7 separate regions of the Homo sapiens genome follow, and all the other regions are linked to region 3. Evidence: promoter capture Hi-C in 16 types of primary human blood cells and fetal thymus (Javierre and others, 2016). All regions are on one chromosome and are shown on one strand. The core of a region is centred on a gene start or on the middle of the fragment in contact, and the rest is flanking DNA. Distances in the headings are between cores, read along the strand shown.

Region 1 (2,808 bases), core at 8-2,507, 610 kb after region 3:
AGGGTTGTACAGATAGAAAGTTCACAAGTGGGGTTTCCTAGAAATAAATCAGTGATTGCCAAAGATTACATCTGAATCTTTTAAAGGATAAGAGCTCTTCATTATCAAAAGATTAAAAATACCTGCATTTAATTTACCCAGAGTTCTGAGGTTTTCATTCTATTGCTAAGAAAACCAAAAAAGGATCTCAATAAAACAAGCAACCAAAGCATTTGATAGAAAAATGTACAGTGATAAGCAGAGGAAAAACAAACAGCCGCTGCCTGAGCCAAACATACCTGTCTCATAAAGAAAAAGAACAGAAACCGAAGAGCAATTGCTATGCCATTTCACCATGTCCCCTGTCTAAGCATAAAATCATCCTGCTTTAAATATTAGGCCCTCTGAATGAGTTAAAAATCTAACCCTTCTCAAGATGATCCTCAAATAAATCAGAAATATCTCAATTTTATTCTGATATACTATTTCCAGAATTCTGGTCTATTTTTTAACCTCTAAACTAAAATGTGAGAATGGTAAGAGAGCTTGTTTTAAAATGAGGCTTTTTTTTTCAAGTTTTCATTAAATTAAATTGGTAAAATCTTTTCTATACATTTTAAGTTTATGTATATATAAACTCAAAAATGACAGTGGAAGACATTTGAATGCTCCTAAATGATGGTGGCAGACACCCAAACAATTTGGGTGGAACTAGAAGTGGCAAGAACTTAGAGGCCCTTTCCTTTCAAGCTTCCCAACTCCAGAGAAGAGTCGACCACTGACCACCTGGCTAATCAGCTGGGTGAACTTCATCAGCAGACACCGTAAGGAAAGAGCAGCTAACCAAACACTGAAGTTAAAAATGTCAGGGGGAAAATAATTGTTTAACTTAAAATCGTGAGGTTCACTCTTCTCTTACAAATATCAGGTCATATTCTTTAAACAATTTTTATTTTAAAGTGCTTAAACACAAAGGCCTCAAAAACGGCCTAGTAATACTATCAGTTAAGAATATCTGTTATAAAATTATAACCTATTTAAAATCTAACATTCAAGTTTGAAACAAATGGGTGAAATCCAGAATGAACGCTAGAGCTTCACCCTTCATCAGCACTCTTCCATCTCGGAACATCATGAGCCGCCTACTATTGTATGATCCATAGGATTCAAGTGGGACACCCTAGATTAGAAATATCTAGCTGAAGTGCCTCTATTCTTAACGTTCTTACTTGTTCCACATTAAATTAGGCCAAAAATAAGCAGTAGTAAATACGGTCCTCTGAGGAAAGAACGGCCTCACATTAACTATATATTAATCTCGTTAAAATAAATGGCTGAAGTACAGAAATTTCAAAATGTATTTAAACAGGAAGAAGAGATGATATTACCAGGTCACTTTAAAAATAATGTATCAATATTCATTTTTAAAAAACCAAACCTACTCATTGCAAACTGAATATTCTCAAGTATTTTAGTCACGAATTCATGAAATTTTTTACTAATGTGTATATAAATTTAAAACAGACAGATGAGTAATTCATATACTCAAATTCATGAAACAAGAAAACCAATAATTACTCTCTTCTTTGTGAAGAACGTCTAATCAACGTGTTCTTCAAAGAGAAGAATCTGATACTTCTTCCTTGACATCTTGATTCAAAGGTGAAAATTACTCAAAATGAAACTTGAGGTGATCATGAATTGAAATTTCTCAAGTAGAATAAATCTACTTTGCCATCAGGTGCAAAAAGTATTGTTCTAAATACTTCCGCTTATCTAAGAGATAATGTACAACTGCCTGGAGGCAAAGCTTTAGCTTTAGATAAAATGAGACCTTTGCCCTCAGCCTTTCAAACTAGCTCCACTCACATCATGGACTTCTCCACCTGGTGAATTTTCATTTTAAATCTTCAACTCATTTTTAGATTGTAGTACAAAACTCATCAGTAAACTTTTTCTTGGTATTTTCCATACTGGCTTTTTATATGCCAGACACATGGTGATTTTTTTTTTCCCTGAACGTAATTTATAGAAATTCCCTGAATAACAAAAAGAAAACAATTTTGTTATATTCACTTGACAGCTAAAAAGAATTCCAAAAAGAAAACAACTATTTTGCTGCTGTAAGTATATGAAGAATATTTTTACCATTCCATTCATTTCACTGGAATGTATATGGAAGACATCCGTACAGCAAATAAAGAAGTCAGCAGCCAGAGTGAAATAGAGCAAGTCAATGTGTACTGTCATAGGAAGAGTTACGAATGTTTAAAGGCCCGGGATTAGCCACCCAAGGATTCAGTTAAGTACAGTACAAAGCTAACAACTCACAATTTACAAGTGGGTTATAAAAACTCTATAGTATCACATTAGTTTGCTAAAGAACTATGAATCTTCCAGTTGTAAACTGATAAATTCCTGAATGCATTTCTTATACTGCATTTCAGTATGGTTATTAGTAGAATATTGACCTGGCTGTCCATAAAGTCCTTCTGATTCCCGCATCTCTTCATTCATTCTTGCTAAACGTAACCTAAAAATAAATAAAATAGTGTTTTAGATGACATTATATAATATAAATGTCATAAATAAAGTCTATAAACAGGTAATACATGTACTAATGTAATTGTGTTTTATTTGCCATTAAAATAATCTGGCTTTTAGTTTATCAAACCCAGCAATCTGAGGTACAAAGATAAGTATCTCACCTTCATACAATTCTCATAAGAAAGGACAACAAAAATCTTCTGACGACTGCATTTTAGCTGTACTGCAGCAGCATCCCCGCAATACCTCTAGTGGCTTGCTTCCTCCAGATGCCTGACAATT
Region 2 (2,700 bases), core at 7-2,506, 580 kb after region 3:
AAAGAAGTCAGACTCGGACCCTGTCCCCAACTGCCCCAGGCTGGGAAATTCACCAGCACTGCGGACAGAGCAGGGGATAACAGCAGCATCAGAAAGACCCATAAGGCCATAGGTTTGCAGAGGGAATGCAGTCCCTCAGCAAGGAGCTTCAGTCGGACTAAACCAGCAGAAAAGGCGGTTTCCGAGTACCATGCTCGCACAACAGGGAGCCGCCGACCAGGCCTGGAGATCCCTGTGACAGTCACGGCAGGACTGGGGCTGCAGGAGTGCAGAGCCAGGTGGGAGACAGCAGCGGGGTTCCCTACCCCACACGGCTCGCACCCACGAGCTCAGCCCCCAGCAGGACCCAGTCGGGCTGGGGACTCAGCTCCATCCAAGTGGGCTGAGCAGGGCCAGGCAATGGGTTGGAGGGAGCCATGACTCTGGGCCTGCAGCTGAGGAGGCTGCAAAGCTTCCTTCTGGAGCAGCCGATCAGTGGACGTGGAGCAAAGCCTTTCATTGTCCACAAAACACAGACGACTGCAGGGAGTCACAAGTGGGTGAGATCCAAAAGCTGTGTCAGGCTAGAAACCAAAACAGAAGACAAACCGGCGCACAGAGCAAGCACAGCGTAGAACTGGCTTCCGAACACAAGGGAAGGCAGGCAGGGAGACCATGAGTGCAGGGAACCAGAGAGGGCACAGGAGAGCTGCTCCCAGTCTCCCTTGTCCACTGAGCAGCTGTGTGGCCCTGAGCAAGTTGCTTGGCCTCTCTGGGCCCCCGTTTTCTCATGGATAACATGAATAGACTCAACTCCAGGACCAGAGTCTGGACTCCCTCCAACCCAGACCTCTTCTGCAGCTAAATGAGGGAGGTGGGGCTCCAACATCTCAGCCTGTAAATCCCACCTCCTAGAAAGAGGCTCCCTGCTGTTCTATGGGCAGCTCCTGGAGGAGGGAGGGAAGGTCCACCCCGGGCAGCCCTGGGATTCCCCTGTTCTGTGCCACCCAGCTGACCAGGGGAAGAGGCCACCCAGCCAGCAGCAGGCACAGGGGCACCGTGGGAACCCTTCTGGTGGGGCCCCAGCTCTCACAGAGCATTCCTGGCTTTGGAGGGACAAGAACAAACCGCCAAAATCAACAGGCATCGGGCAGAGTGCTGAAGAATCAGCAAGCCGGACTCCAATCATGGCTCCGAGCAAGCTCATCTGTGCAGCCTCTTCCTAGGGGAGACTAGCTACCCCTCACAGGCCTGGCTGCTCCAAGGTTAAATGAGGGAGGAAAAGCAGGATCCAGCATGGTGCCTGCCACCCAGGGTCTCCTGCGATGGTGGCAACTGTGGCTCATTGACGGTGACGATAAACCTGAGACAGCTCTGGTCATTCCAAGTCCCTCGCCCTCATGCTCCGCGCAGGCCTGAGGTGCGGCCCTGCACAGGGCAGGGCCCGAGAAACGAACCAGTACCTCCCAGAGGACGGAAGGGAAGTCAGCACGGAAGCCTCACCTAGGGTCATTCCAGGGATTATCCCAGAAAGAGGGGAAGAGCAGCCTCCTCACACCCCGCAACTTCTCACCCGCACATTCAGGATGGGGTCTGGAAAGGGCATGAGCTCTGTAAGCCCCCAGCACTGTTTATACACGCCTGGAAGAGAACAGACTGTTACTCAGAGCCGGAGCGTCCCCACTCCTCTTATGATGAGAAACTGAGGCAAAGACATCAGAAGGCCTTGCTAACAGAAGCCAGGGTCAGAGGAAGACCCAGAACTCAGGATCAATAACATCTGGGCAGGACTCTGTCCACCACACTCCAGCTGAAGTGAGCGCCCAGGGGCAGGTGCAGGCTGAAGAGCTTGCCCAGGGCACTGCCTGCCAGCCGGGGCTCTAGGCAGACCAAGCAACCTTCCCAGGGCTCTCAGGTAAGGGAGACAAGTGAAGCCCCTTGTACCTCCCAAGGGCCAGCATCAGCATTTCTTCATGGTAATGCAAGGGGGACAGTTCCAAAACCCAAAACACCGCTGACACTTCATGGCTAGTGTCAGGCTGGATGACTTTCTGCAGGAGAACCCGTGACAAGAGGGACCGGGAAGCTTTCTTTACAAGCTTGAGGCCTCTGTAAGCGGCCAAGGACGCCATGTCCCGCAAGTCTGAGCAGCATGTGCACAGGACATCTGACGGGCATCGGTGCCCAGCCATCCCACCCCGGCCTTCCATGGCTGCACTCACACCCCACTGCCCACCGTGTTGGCATCCAGCTCCTCCAGTGTGCGAGCCTATGCAGTCTTACCCATGCCAGGCCCTGCGCCACTACATCCTGGAGACACAGAATGAAATAAGACACAGTGCTCATCCCCCAGCAGCTGGCAGAAGGGCCAGTGTCAGCTCGGCAGGAGCCAGGGGAAAGGGGCTCACCAGGGTGGAGGTGAGAGGTAGGTCCCCACATAACTGGCACCGTCCGAGCTTCATCATGAAAGGCGAGTTAATCAGATGAAGATGGGAGGAATGGGTGATCCGGGGAAGAAGCCCCTGAGCAAAGTCCCAGAGATGGGAAGTGGCCGGGGTACACCACAACCCCAGGCAGTCCAGCCAGGTGGATCACCATGGCAGCCAGGTACATCCTGGCTGGGCCGGCACGGGCCCCGTAGCTCTCCCTGTGGCTCCCGCTCCAGAGTCCTGGCTACTGCTGACTCTCTGCCAACCCAGAGAGCCACACACTCACCCAGCC
Region 3 (2,860 bases), core at 63-2,562:
TGATCAGCTTGGGCAACACAGCAAGACCCTGTCTCTCCAAAACAAACAAACAAAACCAAACAACCAGGCCTGATGGTGTGCACCTGTAATGCCAGCTACTCAAGAGACTGAGGCAGGGGGATTATTTGTGCCCAGAAGTTTGAGACTGTAGTGAATTGGTGAGTTATGATCACACCACTGGCACTCTAGCCTGGGTGACAGAGTGTGACCCTGTCTCTAAAAATGAATAACTGAATGATGAATGAATTTCCTAAATAAATATTAAGGGCCAAAAGTTTAAGTGGGCATAGAATCAGCAAAAATAAGGAATTAGGATCCAATTCTTTACCATTCATGTTCAATCTTCCCACAGTTTCCTAAAAGGCTTCATTAGTAACAAGTTGCTTCAAAGCTAATAAAAATTACCAGTAATCTAATGTCCAGAGTAACTCTGACCTGATGAATACTGATAAGCACTCCATGCTGTTTACTCTGCAGACTATATGGATGAAAGTCAGCTGGTGTGACAGTGGCACACGCTTACTTAGCTCCAGGGACATATTTAACTAAATTTAGCACACGATCTTAGCACTCAACATGTTCTCATTCATTCCCGGGGGAATGAATGGTGAAAATAACGACTAGAATGATGAACACAAGCCAAATCACTTCATTCATTTTTTTAAAGATCCTTCTATAACCTAGTAAAATATTAGGTCTTGTCACACCTGAAAAATCAATGATTTATCTTTGAGCTAAACCACTAGGGGGTGCTTCGCAAGGATGAGGCAAGGATCTGAATTATTTTATATTTCTGGCAGTAACCAACCGCTTCTGGAGGATCCATTCTTTGAACAAATCAATACAAAAATACGTTTTGTCTTTTTCCTGCTCTGGAAGTTCCAAGCACTTCAGTGGCTTCTAGGGCAAAACCCAAACGTACTCAAGACCTGGCATTGAAGACTCTTCAGATTCTCACTCCACGCCTCATCACCACACTAACTCTTCTTTCAAGCTTCTCCTACCTTTGTGTTCTGGGCCTTGCCAGGAGGAGGGCCTGCTACTCAGCTTGGCAGAAACTCCAACTCATCCTTCAAAACCCGGCTGAGGCGTCCCTCCTGCAAAACTTATCTGACTTTTGACCCCGAATTTTGCAGCACTCAGGCTAGACAGAAAAGATAAGAAAGATGACATGGTCTGTCTTACCCAGGAGTCAGTGTGACGATGGCTTCGGCTCCGCTGAGTCTGATGGCGCATAAGGGCCCGTCCCAGCGACCCACCGGCCGGGGCTCTCCTCCGGCCCATGGCAACACGACCGCTGGACGAAGCTTCCCGGCTCGGCGCGTGCAGTTTCCGGGATTCACAGTTCGATCCCCGGAAGTGACGATAAGCGAGCCCAAGTAGTTCAGGCTCAAACTTGAGAGGGGAAAGCAGAATGACTTGTTCTCAAGTTCTCCTTTTACGTCTCGATTTTACCAGTATTATAGAATATAAGTGAAAAAATGGTTCTGGGAAATTTTCGATAGATTTCCTGGCGAATGTCTCGAGTTTGGATAAATGACTGAGTTAAAAGAATGGTCCATTCTTAATTTGTGCGTCGGTCTTTAGCGTCCGGCGAGAAACTAGAGCACGTCGGAAACATGGCGGTTCCTATTCGCGGCACTAGCTCCGCCTTCCGCTGCTTCCGTCAGGAGGACGCGGAGACTCGGAGGAAGAGTGTTTCGGTGGCGCTGGGACGGGGGCGTTTCCCAGCGCTGGTTTTCTGCTGGCGTCCCGAGGTGTGGTCTCTCCGAGGTCCAGCACAGCAACTAACTTTTTGTTTATCTAGCCGACCCCAGCTGCGAACTGGGGAGAAAAGTCTTCGCCTGGATGTGAATTTGGAATGAGAGGCTGAATAGTATTTCCAGAGCTTGGCAAGGTTGTAGGAAAAGCCAACAGGAAGTGACTTACGCTTTATTTCAAAGAAAAAAAAAATGTTTAAACAGTTCTAATTATATTTTCATTACCCTTTTTAAAAATAATTAAAATGAAAGTGAAAACAGTGAGCCAGCTCCACTCCTAGAGGCCTGGGCTTTTGTTCCTCACTTGAATGTTTGATTTCCCTATAATGGGAATAATAGAAAGTCAGCTTAGAGTGGCTGGTGAACTACATTCTCATTGATCCAGAGAACCATCTCTTTGTTTTGATGCTTGGAGAGAGGAAGCAGCTTGAGCAAGTCGTAGATTGAGTGCGTGCAGTGTCAGGAATAAACCCAAGTCTTGTCACTAGCCTGTACACCCCTGGGGAGAGTGGGGAATGAGGGTTGTTAACATGTATTATTTATTTATTTTTATCTTTTGAGACAGAGTCTCGCTGTCCCCCAGGTGGAGTGCAAAGGCATGATCTCGGCTCACTGCAACCTCTGCTTCCCGGGTTCAAGTGATTCTCCTGCCTTAGCCTCCCGAGTAGCGGGAATTACAGACACGTGCCACCGCACCCAGCTAATTTTTGTATTTTTAGTAGAGACAGGGTTTGACTATTTTGGCCAGGCTGGTCTCGAACTCCTGACCTCAGGTGATCGCCCGCCTCGGCCTCCCAAAGTGCTAGGATTACAGGTATGAGCCACTGCGCCTGGCCAAACATGTATTTTTAAATCATAGGATCGAGGTAATGCATATATTACCTAGCATAGCTTGATTTAGCCATTCCACAATGTACACATATATCAAAACATTATGCGGTACAACGTAAGTAATAAACAATTTTTAGTTGTCAATTAAAACAACAGCCAAAAAGAAATAAATAGGATCAAGAATCTGTTTAACCTAGGGCTTTTCACACTTTAATGTGCATATAAATCCCCTGGGAATCTTGTTAACATGCAGATTCTGATTCATAAGC
Region 4 (2,772 bases), core at 233-2,732, 780 kb after region 3:
AAAAATACAAAAAATTAGCCAGGCGTGGTGGCGGGCGCCTGTAGTCCCAGCTACTCGGGAGGCTGAGGCAGGAGAATGGCGTGAACCCGGGAGGCAGAGCTTGCAGTGAGCCGAGATGGCAGCACTGCACTCCAGCCTGGGCGACAGAGCAAGACTCCATCTCAAAAAATAAATAAATAAATTAATTAATTAATTAATTTAAAAAATTGAAAGAATCTGATGGCCAACCAAATGTGGGGAGAAGGAAAAAATAAAGACAACTCCTCGGATGACTCCAGGTTGCAGATCTGGGTGACTGGGTAATAGGTAGTGCTATTCATAGAAAGGGGAGAAAGTTTATCTCAAAATATGTTGCTTCAGAAAGTCCTTAAATGTTCTCATCTTATACCATTTTCTCACCCAGAACATCCCATGCACAAGCTCAGCATAGATGTCTCTAGTTGTCTCATTCCCATATATTCACTTCATACTCACGTTCCCACTCCCACCCCCATGCCAGTATTCCTTTTTTCTCCCAGGCTGTTGGTATACCACCCTGTCTCTCCCTCCACCTCAGGGCAGTTTCATACCCACAGCTCGGGATTGATCCAAGCATTTTCCTTCTGCTTTCTCCTCTCCTAGTTGCTGAGCAAGATTAGAAATAATTTCTATTGTAAAGCAGCAGGAAGCCATTGGAAAAATCTAAACAGAGGAATGGTATCATCTGATTTGTGCTGGAGTGCACTGGTGTGATCATAAGTCACTGCTGCCTCGACCTCCCAGACTCAAGTGATCCTCCATCCTCAACCTCCCGAGTAGTTGGAAGTACAGGTGCACGCCACACGCCTGGCTAATATTTGTACGTTTTGTAGAGGTGGGTCTCACTGTGTTGCCTGGGGCTGATCTGGAACTCCGGAGCTCAAGTGATCCTCCCTGCCTCAGACTCCCGAAGTAATTACAAGTATGAGCTGCTGTACGTGGCCTGATTTGTATTTTAAGGGGGAATAAGTAGGCAAATGGGTGAAGGCTTTTAGGGAGACTCTATCATTGCATTCACCAGCACATGAGACTCTATCACTGAGTCTCCATCACTGTGTTCACCACCACATACTTAGGATTTGCAACTGTCTTTTTTTTTTTTTTTTGAGATGGAGTTTTGCTCTTGTCGCCCAGGCTGGAGTCCAGTGGCGCAATCTTGGCTCACTGTAACCTCCACCTCCCAGGTTCAAGTGATTCTCATGCCTCAACCTCCCGAGTAGCTAGGATTACAGGTGCCCACCACCACACCCAGCTAATTTTTCTATTTTTAGTAGAGACGGGGTTTCACCACGTTGGCCAGGCTGGTCTCAAACGCCTGACCTCAGGTGATCCACCTGCCTCGGCCTCCCAAAGTGCTGGGATGACAGGCGTGAGCCACCGCGCCTCATCTCAACTGTCTTTGTATTATTTATCTGTGACCAGTTCCCTGGCCCACTGGCACAATGGCTGTTCTCAAACCTTGCTGCTCTCCTCAAGCCTCCCAGCAAATGTGCCCCACCCCACTCATGATTTGCAAACAACATTGGGTCCTCAAAAAGAAAATAAGAGTCATTAGGAACACTCTTCTACCCCCAGCCCACATACTCATCTATGTTCGCACTTTTCTTACTTCTTACCCACCTATCTCAGAGGAAGGTGGCATCTCTTTCTGCCACTCCTGATCTGTGCTCTAGGGAATCCACCCCTTCTGTTCTCTTTGGAGAATGGCTCTATCAATTATCCCCTCCTTCTCTGTACCTTCAAACTCTCAACTGACCATTCTTCTGTCTTTGGAAGAAAGAGAAGAAAATCATACACCGTCTGTATCAGAAAGGATTATTTTTGTTGTAAGAGAAACTATGTGAGTTAATGAAAACAAAGGGTTCATGATGGGTTAGTTTCACCCAGAACCAGATGGCTGGCTTTCCTTGAAACTTGAGAAGGATTTAGAACGAGGGCCTGTAAAGCCGGCAGCTCCTTCCTGTCTGCCCATTTCCACATCTGCAGCTTACTTCATCTGACTCTCCAGGCAGCAGCTCCCAACACTACCCAACCAACCGGAGAGGATGGGCTTTCTCTCTAGGCCCCAAATCTAAATTTCTTGGAGGAAGTATTGGCCCACCTTGGATGCTGTACCCCGCACAGAGGCCAATCAACTACAGTCAAGGAGGCAGCTGTGTACAAACATGGCTCCTGAGAGTCTGCCCCTGTGACCTTGTAGTTGGGAAATCTCTTAGCCAAGAAGGGGGACATGTGAGTTGGAAAAATTCCCCTCTGACTATTGCCAAATCTCCTTCCGTTGCTTTATATCTAAGACTCTTTAACAGCACAGTCTCCACTCCCTACTCCACAGTTTCTCCTCCCATTCATTCCAATATCCTCTGCATTCTGTTCTCCACTCTCTCCAACACCCCTGCTCCCTACCAACTGTTTCAGGAAGGTCACTTTCCAACGGCCAAACCCAAAGCACACTTTCAGTACTTGTTTTCCTGACGTCTCCTCAGCATTTGCCACTGTTTCCAAGTCTTTCCACCTGGGAAACTCATGCCACTTTCCTGCTTAAGATTCTTCAAGGGTTGGTCATTGCCTAAGCTATCATTTTTCAGCTTTCCCTAACTATGAAACCCTTTATTTAAAAGAAAAAGTATTTCACTGATGCCCACCATTAAGTAGGCAAAAGCAGAGTTGGTGAGGTTGAAACAGGAATGGGAGACCCAGAGCCTTGCCCGCCTGGCCCCACTGCCCACCCCCGGATGGCCCCTGTGTGGACTCCAA
Region 5 (2,700 bases), core at 16-2,515, 850 kb after region 3:
AAAGAGCGAGTTACAACACCATATACTATATTTACTATGTACAATGCCTGTCACATACACACACAGAGAGAAAAATAAGACTCAGCAATTAACAGTGTTTAATTCTGAGTCAAGGAACAATGAAGTAGTTTTAATATTTTATTATTTTCTATTTTTATAATTAAGAAAAAATCCTTTAAAACAATTCTTACCTGTTAAGAAACTGCCATGATTTAAGACATTGTTGGCTAAAAACGTAACCTCATTTTCAGAGTAATTTTAAGAAAAACGTATTATAAAGTAATGGTGAAGTGACTCCAAAATATTTCATTTTAGTCTTCACCATAGAAACATAAAGCTGGCAGCAACACAACTGATCACACTAGAGCAACTATTTATGAATACATAATTTTAAGGTTTTTAACTTCCTTAGATCAGAAAATTAAAAAAAAAAAAAAACAACAGAAAAGGGGGGGCCAATATAAAATTGCCAGCTATTTTACCAATGAACAGCATTAAAATTATTCACCGTTGTTTTATTTTTTCTTTTTTTCAAGATGGAGTTTCACTCTAATTGCCCAGGCTGGAGTGCAATGTGCAATCTTGGCTCACGGCAACCTTAGCCTCCTAGGTTTAAGCGATTCTCCTGCCTCAGTCTCCCGAGTAGTTGGGATCACAGGCATGTGCTACCACTCCTGGCTAATTTTGGTAGTTTTAGTAGAGACGGGGTTTCATCATGTTGGCCAGGTTGGTCTCCAACTCCTGACCTCAGGTGATCCGCCTGCCTTGGCCTCCAAAAGTGCTGGGATTACAGGCATGAGCCACTGCGCCTGGCTTCACCATTGTTTTATTAAAAATTTCATCAAAATATTTCAATGTCAAAAATGCACAGAGGCCAGATGCTGGGGCTCATGCCTGTAATCCCAGGAGTTCAAGACCAGCCTGGGCAACATGGCAAGAACCTATCTCTACAAAAAAATTACAAAAAATTAGCTGGGTGTGGTAGTACACGACTGTGGTCCCAGCTACTGGGAAGGCTGAGATGGGAGGACTGGCTAAGCTTAGAAGGCTGAAACTGCAGTGAGCCGCGACTATGCCACTGCACTCCAGCCTGGGTTGACAAGTGAGACCGTAGCTCAAAAATTTATTTATTTACTTTTTAAAAAGCAGAGACATCTCTCAATAAGGGTATTTACAGTACTTTCTTCTTTTTTTTAAATTTTAATTTTTAGAGATGAGATCTCACTGTTGCCCAGGCTGGCTTCCAACTTCTGGGCTCAAGCAGTCCTCCTACCTCAGCCTCCCAAGTAACTGGAACTACAGATGCGTGCCACCACACCTGGCCTCCAAAGTACTTTCTCTTTGTTTGATTTTTACTAGAGACGGGGTTTCACCATGTAGGTCAGGCTGGTCTTGAACTCCTGACCTCAAGTGATCCACCTGCCTCAGCCTCCCAAAGCACTGGGATTACAGGTGTAAGACACCGCACCTGGCCAGTACTTTCTTAATTCCCTAAGCTTTTATCAACATCTATACTTATATTTTTAAAACTTATACTGAAGTCCGGGCGCAGTGCTCACGCCTGTAATCCCAGCACTTTGGGAGGCCGAGGAGGGCGGATCATGAGGTCAGGAGTTTGAGAACATCCTGGCTAACATGGTGAAACCCCGTCTCTACTGAAAATACAAAAAATTTGCTGGGCGTGGTGGCACACGTCTGTAATCCCAGCTACTCAGGAGGCTGAGGCAGGAGAATCACTTGAACCTGGGAGGTGGAGGTTGCAGTGAGCGAAGATCGCGCCACTGCACTCCAGCCTGGGCGACAGAGCAGGACTCTGTCTCAAAAAAAAAAAAAAAAAAAAAAAAGAACTGCAATAATTACCCAGTTTAGACAATAAAGTATATGAACATACAGTAAACATTCTGCCATAATGATTTATGTAATTTTAAAATCGTTACAAGTTGTTGAGTCATAATTTAATTCCCTATTTTTGGTTAAAGATTTCTGATTTCCTTCATGTTTTCAATGTTTCTTTTGGTTTGTTTTTATTTTGTGAAGGTATATCAGCAATTTTCAATGTTTTTAAGACTATATATATAAAATATATTGTGCATTTGTTCTATTATTTTCTCAGTATGAGCCAGTGTTTTTGAAACTGTGCATCATGATTATTTATGTACTTATTTATTTTTTTAAAGACAAAGTCTCACTCTGTCACCCAGCCTGGAGTGCAGTGGCATGATACCGGCTCACTGCAACCTCCACCTCCCAGGTTCAAGCAATTCTTGTGCCCCAGCCTCCCGAGTAGCTGGGATTAGAGGCGCCCACCACCATGCCTGGCTAATTTTTGTATTTTTAGTAGAGATGGGGTTTCGCCATGTTGGCCAGGCTGGTCTCAAACTCCTGGCCTCAAGAGATCCTCCTGTCTCAGCCTCCCAAAGTGCTGGGATTACAGGCATAAGCCACCAAACCCGGCCATCATGATTCTTAATAAGTCATAACTAACATTTAAAAAGGTTAAGGCAGACTATTTATATGAATACAACAAGTGAATTATTCTTTTTATACCTACTTTTACTTTTTATGGGGGAATATCTTAAGTTGTTAAAAGTTAGTATTTAGTGAGTGCTCACAATATGCCAAGATCAGTGATAAGTGCTTTAAATGCTTTAACTCATTTAGTAGTCACCAAAATATTTTTACAGCTGCCAATTTAGAAAT
Region 6 (2,862 bases), core at 195-2,694, 880 kb after region 3:
GGAGGCTGAGGTGGGTGGATCACCTGAGGTTAGGAGTTCGAGACCAGCCTGGCCAACATGGTGAAACCCCATCTCTACTAAAAATACAAAAATTAGGCTGGGCGTGGTGGCCCATGCCTGTACTCCCAGCACTTTGGGAGGCTGAGGTGGGTGGATCACCTGAGGTTAGGAGTTCGAGACCAGCCTGGCCTACATGGTGAAACCCCATCTCTACTAAAAATACAAAAATTAGGCTGGGCGTGGTGGCTCACGCCTGTAATCCTAGCACTTTGGGAGGCTGAGGCGGGTGGAGCATGAGGTCAAGAGATCGAGACCATCCTGGCCAACATGGTGAAACTCCATCCCTACTAAAAAAAAAATGCAAAAATTAGCTGGGTGTGGTGGTGCACACCTGTAGTCTCAGCTACTCTGGAGGCTGAGGCAGAAGAATCGCTTGAACCTGGGAGGCGGAGGTTGCAGTGAGCCGAGATCGCGCCACTGCACTCCAGCCTGGCAACAGAGCAAGACTCCATCTCATAAAACAAACAAACAAACAAACAAACAAAACCAACAACAAAATCAAAAGTTAGCTTGGCCTGGTGGTGGGTGCCTGTAATCCCAGCTACTCCAGAGGCTGAGGTAGGGAGGATCTCTTGAACCTGGCGGTGGAGGTTGCAGTGAGCCGAGATCACACCTCAGTACTCCAGCCTGGGCGACAAGAGCAAAACTAAACACCATCTCAAAAAATAATAATAATAGTTCTCTTTGCCATCATTTCTCTTCCCGTGGAGCCGCTGCCATGAAGGTTGACCTGTGCAGTTTCAGCAGGTACAAGATCTACCCCGGACACGGGAGGCGCCACGCCAGGACCGACGGGAGGGTTTTCCAGTTTCTTAATTCAAAATGCAAGTTGGCGTTCCTTTCCAAGAGGAATCCTCCGCAGATAAACTGGACTGTCCTCTACAGAAGGAAGCACAAAAAGGGGCAGTCGGAGTAAATTCAAAAGAAAAGAACCCACCGAGCAGTCAAATTCCAGAAGACCATTACGGTGTATCTCTTGCTGCTATAATGGCCAAGAGGAATCAGAAACCCGAAGTTAGAAAGGCTCAAAGAGAACAAGCTATCAGGGCTGCTAAGGAAGCAAAAAATGGCTAAGCAAGCATCTAAAAAGACTGCAAGGGCTGCTGCTACGGCACCTACAAAGGCAGCACCTGAGCAAAAGATTGTGAAGCCTGTGGAAGTTTCAGCTCCCCGAGTTGGTGGAAAACACTAAACTGGCAGATTAGATTTTTAAATAAAGATTGGATTATAACTCTAATAATAAGAAGAAAATAAAAATCTCCTAAATCTGCCTTCGCCTTTCTACTTCCACTTTCTAGTTCAGGCCCTCGTCATGACACAGTGGAGCACTGGCCATCTCACAGGTCCTCCTGCTGTCAGGCCCGTGCATCCCCTCTCCATTCCCCTCTGCTGCTAGAGCCATCACTCAGTGCTGCGGACGGTACCCCTCCCAGGGCAGGAGGTAGGTGGATCCCCATAGCGTCATGAATGACTCTGCTTTAGTCAGCTGCCTGGGCTTTACCAGCCCCTTCCTCATCAGATCCTGGCATTCTCTGTAGCCAACCTGAAGACAGAGCATTTGCTTTTAGAGAACTCCAGCCTCGATTTGTTCTTTAGTGACTTTTTTCCTACCGTGAATTAACAAGTTGGTATTTGGATTTCATTTTTAAGATGTAAGTTAAATTGTTTCCTAGAATTGAGTCCTTGAATCAATTCACCTTCAGATTGTAATCTGAGCTCCATGTCATGGTTTACAAAGCTGTCAGTGATCTGGCCTTTGGCCACCTGTTCTACTTCTCCTCTGCAGGGTCCCGGACCCTAGGTGCTACAGAATTGAGTTCCTACTTGGTGGCAGTCTTTCCTCTGCCTGGGATACCACCTCCTCCCCCTTCTATTTCTTTTCTTTCTTTCTTTTTTTTTTTGAGATGGAGTCTCGCTTTGTCGCTCAGGCTGGAGTGCAGTGGCGCGATCTTAGCTCACTGCAACCTCCACCTCCTGGGTTCCAGCGATTCTTCTGCCTCAGCCTCCCGAGTAGCTGGGATTATAGGTGCACACCACCATGCCCGGCTAATTTTTGTATTTTTAGTAGAGACGGGGTTTCACCATGTTGGCCAGGCTGGTCGCAAACTCCTGACCTCGTGATCTGCCCGCGTCAGCCTCCCGAAGTGCTGGGATTACAGGTATCAGTCACCGCGCCCGGCCTCCCCCTTCAATTTTTGACTACCTCCAGCTCGTTTATTCCAAACGCAGCTCAGGATTTGCTCTGGAATGAAGCCTTCTCCACCTCTTCAGGGCAGCATCAGGTGGCCCTCCTCTGTTCTCCCAGAATCCCTCATTCTACCCTCTATTACAGCCTCTCGTCTTATTTGATCTCCACATCTACATGGCTGGTTTTCTTGTTTATCTTTCCCTGTAGACTCTGAGCAACTCCAGCAGGCTCCAGGTCAGTTCTCCCCAACACACTGTACCTAAATCATTTCTCTTTTGGCACCTATTGGGAGTATCCTGTGCTTTTTTCTTTTCTTTTTGCCTGATTTTTGGCATTTTAATTTTGCTTTTTCTTGATAGAATTGCTAGATTTCTATAGACGTTAGCTGTGGACTCTAAGGCAGTCCTCTCCAAAGGCATAGTGTTTGTACTACGATGGATGCGGAGCCACGAAGACTGAGTTGGGGATGGAGCCATCAGCAGGCAGCTGGGGGCGCTGCTGTGGATGAGACGCTGAGCTGACACGTGGAGACTCTTAACGATGATCGTTTCTGGGTGGATCCCAGCTGTAAATGCTTGAGACAACTTGCTTGCAGTCACCTGTAATGTTTGGTA
Region 7 (2,717 bases), core at 163-2,662, 630 kb after region 3:
ACTTGTTTTTAAAAAAAAAAAAGATTGAAATACTTTGTTGCACACTACATGCTCCAAACTAAAGCTTCCAATCAATAAATTAAAGGCCTGTTACAGGCATAAGCAAGGCAATAGTCTAGCTAGAAATTCAAGGATAAAAAGATGTAGGTTCTTCCATCAGTGAGCTTTTATTCCAGTGGGGAGAAACGTGTAAACATTTAAAATTATATATAATAAATGACACAATGAACATATGTACAAAAGATGAAGACAGAAAGGGAACACTAGTCTAACATGCAGGGTGGAGACAGAGGAAATAGGTAAGGGATTATTCAAACTCAAGAATGAAATAAATATTATTGTTTTATACCACACTTTTCCAAGGCGTTCAATAAACTTTAAGCTAGTCATTGTTTTTTTTTTCAGACCTCTCAGGGATAAGGCAAGTTAATTACTGCAGTGAGTAACTAGGAAAGGTATGAGCTTATATAAATAGTAAAGAAGAGATCAACTACAAAATTATAACTACAGAGTGAATCAAATATAGAACATACAATGTTTAAAACTTCAAGGGATATTAGGTAAAAGAGAAGAAAAGCAAAAGATGGCTGATTAACAAAAAGTTAATTTTTTGGCCGAGAGCGGTGTCACCCCTGTAATCCCAGCACTTTAGGAAGCTGAAGCGGGAGGACCACTTGGGTCCAGGTGTTCAAGATCAGCCTGGGCAACAGAGCAAGAGCCTGTCTCTAAAAAAGAATATGTCTGGGCACAATGGCTCATGTCTGTAATCCCAACACTTTGGGAGGCTGAGGCGGGTGGATCACTTTAGGCCAGGAGTTCAAGACCAGCCTGGCCAACACAGTGAAACCCTGTCTCTACTAAAAATACAAAAAAATTAGCTGGGCGTGGTGGCGCACACCTGTGATCCCAGCTACTCAGGAGGCTGAGACATGAGAATAGCTTAAACCCAGGAAACGGAGGTTGCAGTGAGCCAAGATCATGTTGACAAGAGTGAGACTCCAACCTGGGTGACAGAGTGAGACTCCGTCATATGAGCGTAAATACATACATACATACAAACATACAAATTAGCTAGGCATGGTGATGCACACCTGTGGTCCCAGCTACTCAGAAGGCTGAGGCATGAGAATTGCTTAAACCCGGGAGGGGGCTATTGTAGTAAGCCAAGATCATGCCACCGCACTCCAGCCTGGGTGACAGAGTGAGACTCCATCATATGTACATAAATACATACATACATACAAATTAGCTAGGCATGGTGGTGCACACCTGTGGTCCCAGCTACTCAGAAGGCTGAGGCATGAGAATCACTTAAACCCAGGAGGCAGAGGTTGCAGTGAGCCAAGATCATGACACCGTACTCCAGCCTGGGTGACAGAGTGAGACTCCATCATATGTACATAAATACATACATACATACAAACAAATAAGCTAGACATGGTGGTAAGCACCTGTGGTCCCAGCTACTCAGGAGACTGAGGTAGGAGGACTGCTTGAGCCCAGGAGGTCAAGGCTGCAGTGAACTATGATCACACCACTGCATTCCAGCCTGGGAAACAGGGCAAGACTCTGTCTCCCCGCCATCCTGCTACATGGCCATAATGACCGAATACAAAGATGTGGTACTTAGATCCTAAACAATGACAGATATGGTCTATAAAAAGTCTTCTGGTTTAAAAACATTTCAGGTCAGGCAAAGTAGCTCATGCCTGTAATCTCAGCACTTTGGGAAGCCGAGGTGAGTGGATCACAAGGTCAGGAGTTCGAGAGCAGCCTGGCCAATATGGTGAAACCCTGTCTCTACTAAAAATACAAAAAAAAATTAGCCGGGCATGGTGGTACATGCCTGTAATCCTAGCTACTAGGGAGGCTGAGGCAGCAGAATCGCTTGAACCTGGGAGGTGGAAGTTGCAGTGAGCTGAGACCGTGCCCCTGCACACCAGCCTGGGCAATGGAGTGAGACTCCATCTCAAAAAAAAAAAAAAAAAAAAAAAAAAAAAAAACTTCCCTGTAAGTTTAGGATTATTCCGAAATTTTAAGAAAGAAATATTTGTTTTACCAGAATATGTTCGATAATGGGAATTAGCAATTATGTAAGGAAAGAATATCAATATTATATTACAGAAATCATGTTGGTTCATTCCCAAGTTTTCTCTATATGCTAATGTTTTTGCACCAAATTAGAGAACTAAGTACACAAACACAGCAAAACTTGGGTCAGCCACTTCAAGGAACACAGCACTGAATATGACACCAATTCACGAAAGTATTAATAGGAGGAATGATTGTTTAAGCAGGACAGTTCAATCCTACTGTCGCTGCCCCCCATCTCCATGCCACTAGGGGATGACTGCTCTCTACACAAACACAATGACTGGAAGTTATTCTCTGGAGGATTAAAACAGAGTCTCTGAATCGACTTCACCTGAAAGGTGGAAGCCAGAGGATTAAATGAACATATACATACAATATGCTAAGATACCCAGTGCTTAGCTCCCCACCAATCCCTCATAGCTATGCAGGAGATCAATGAGTCTTCTCTGGGAAATCACATCAGCCGAAAAGACTCAAAAAGACCCTGACGATGGTTGTTCCTCAACAAATGGTCCAGACTTAGACAAAGGCCACAGTCAACAAAGTCCTAATTTTGTGCTCAGAGTTTCCAAAGAAGTTTTTAGTGCCTAACACTTATGATGAGATAGCCAAAGGAAGCCTCT

Evidence for each region. Contacts are between HindIII fragments. The CHiCAGO score rates a contact against its expected background, and 5 or more counts as called.
Region 1: a fragment that was not itself captured here is called in contact with the fragment with the promoter of LSG1 in region 3 in 5 of 17 cell types (total CD8 T cells, naive CD8 T cells, M1 macrophages and 2 more); the score reaches 8.6 in total CD8 T cells.
Region 2: a contact is called between a fragment that was not itself captured here and the fragment with the promoter of LSG1 in region 3, in 17 of 17 cell types (naive CD8 T cells, naive B cells, total CD8 T cells and 14 more). The highest score is 35.2, in naive CD8 T cells.
Region 4: a contact is called between a fragment that was not itself captured here and the fragment with the promoter of LSG1 in region 3, in 1 of 17 cell types (naive CD8 T cells). The highest score is 8.0, in naive CD8 T cells.
Region 5: a contact is called between a fragment that was not itself captured here and the fragment with the promoter of LSG1 in region 3, in 10 of 17 cell types (fetal thymus, naive B cells, naive CD8 T cells and 7 more). The highest score is 11.8, in fetal thymus.
Region 6: a fragment that was not itself captured here is called in contact with the fragment with the promoter of LSG1 in region 3 in 7 of 17 cell types (fetal thymus, naive CD4 T cells, non-activated CD4 T cells and 4 more); the score reaches 15.1 in fetal thymus.
Region 7: a fragment that was not itself captured here is called in contact with the fragment with the promoter of LSG1 in region 3 in 1 of 17 cell types (naive CD8 T cells); the score reaches 5.9 in naive CD8 T cells.

What each region holds. Positions count from the first base shown.
Region 1 is chr3:195,283,346-195,286,153 of GRCh38, forward strand. It overlaps ACAP2 (ArfGAP with coiled-coil, ankyrin repeat and PH domains 2), which reads right to left. Exons shown (of 23, transcript NM_012287.6): 22 at 2,451-2,512. Among named protein-coding and RNA genes, the nearest start is that of XXYLT1, 14 kb to the left of the region's middle. The HindIII fragment of the contact is 1,060 bases long and covers 728-1,787 here.
Region 2 is chr3:195,255,023-195,257,722 of GRCh38, forward strand. All of the region lies in intron 1 of XXYLT1 (xyloside xylosyltransferase 1), which reads right to left. Among named protein-coding and RNA genes, the nearest start is that of XXYLT1, 15 kb to the right of the region's middle. RefSeq lists a silencer at 1,077-1,251. The HindIII fragment of the contact is 1,614 bases long and covers 450-2,063 here.
Region 3 is chr3:194,670,879-194,673,738 of GRCh38, forward strand. LSG1 (large 60S subunit nuclear export GTPase 1) reads right to left here and starts at 1,313. Exons shown (of 14, transcript NM_018385.3): 1 at 1,186-1,313. The coding sequence starts at 1,284. LOC124909474 reads right to left here. Exons shown (of 3, transcript XM_047449428.1): 3 at 2,786-2,860. The HindIII fragment of the contact is 1,582 bases long and covers 1,306-2,860 here.
Region 4 is chr3:195,448,829-195,451,600 of GRCh38, forward strand. No RefSeq gene overlaps it. Among named protein-coding and RNA genes, the nearest start is that of ACAP2, 7.2 kb to the left of the region's middle. The HindIII fragment of the contact is 8,844 bases long and covers 1-2,772 here.
Region 5 is chr3:195,519,495-195,522,194 of GRCh38, forward strand. All of the region lies in intron 4 of PPP1R2 (protein phosphatase 1 regulatory inhibitor subunit 2), which reads right to left. Among named protein-coding and RNA genes, the nearest start is that of PPP1R2, 22 kb to the right of the region's middle. The HindIII fragment of the contact is 457 bases long and covers 1,038-1,494 here.
Region 6 is chr3:195,553,832-195,556,693 of GRCh38, forward strand. It overlaps the pseudogene RN7SL73P and the pseudogene RPL24P6. Among named protein-coding and RNA genes, the nearest start is that of PPP1R2, 12 kb to the left of the region's middle. The HindIII fragment of the contact is 9,159 bases long and covers 1-2,862 here.
Region 7 is chr3:195,302,193-195,304,909 of GRCh38, forward strand. All of the region lies in intron 13 of ACAP2 (ArfGAP with coiled-coil, ankyrin repeat and PH domains 2), which reads right to left. Among named protein-coding and RNA genes, the nearest start is that of XXYLT1, 32 kb to the left of the region's middle. The HindIII fragment of the contact is 2,701 bases long and covers 63-2,717 here.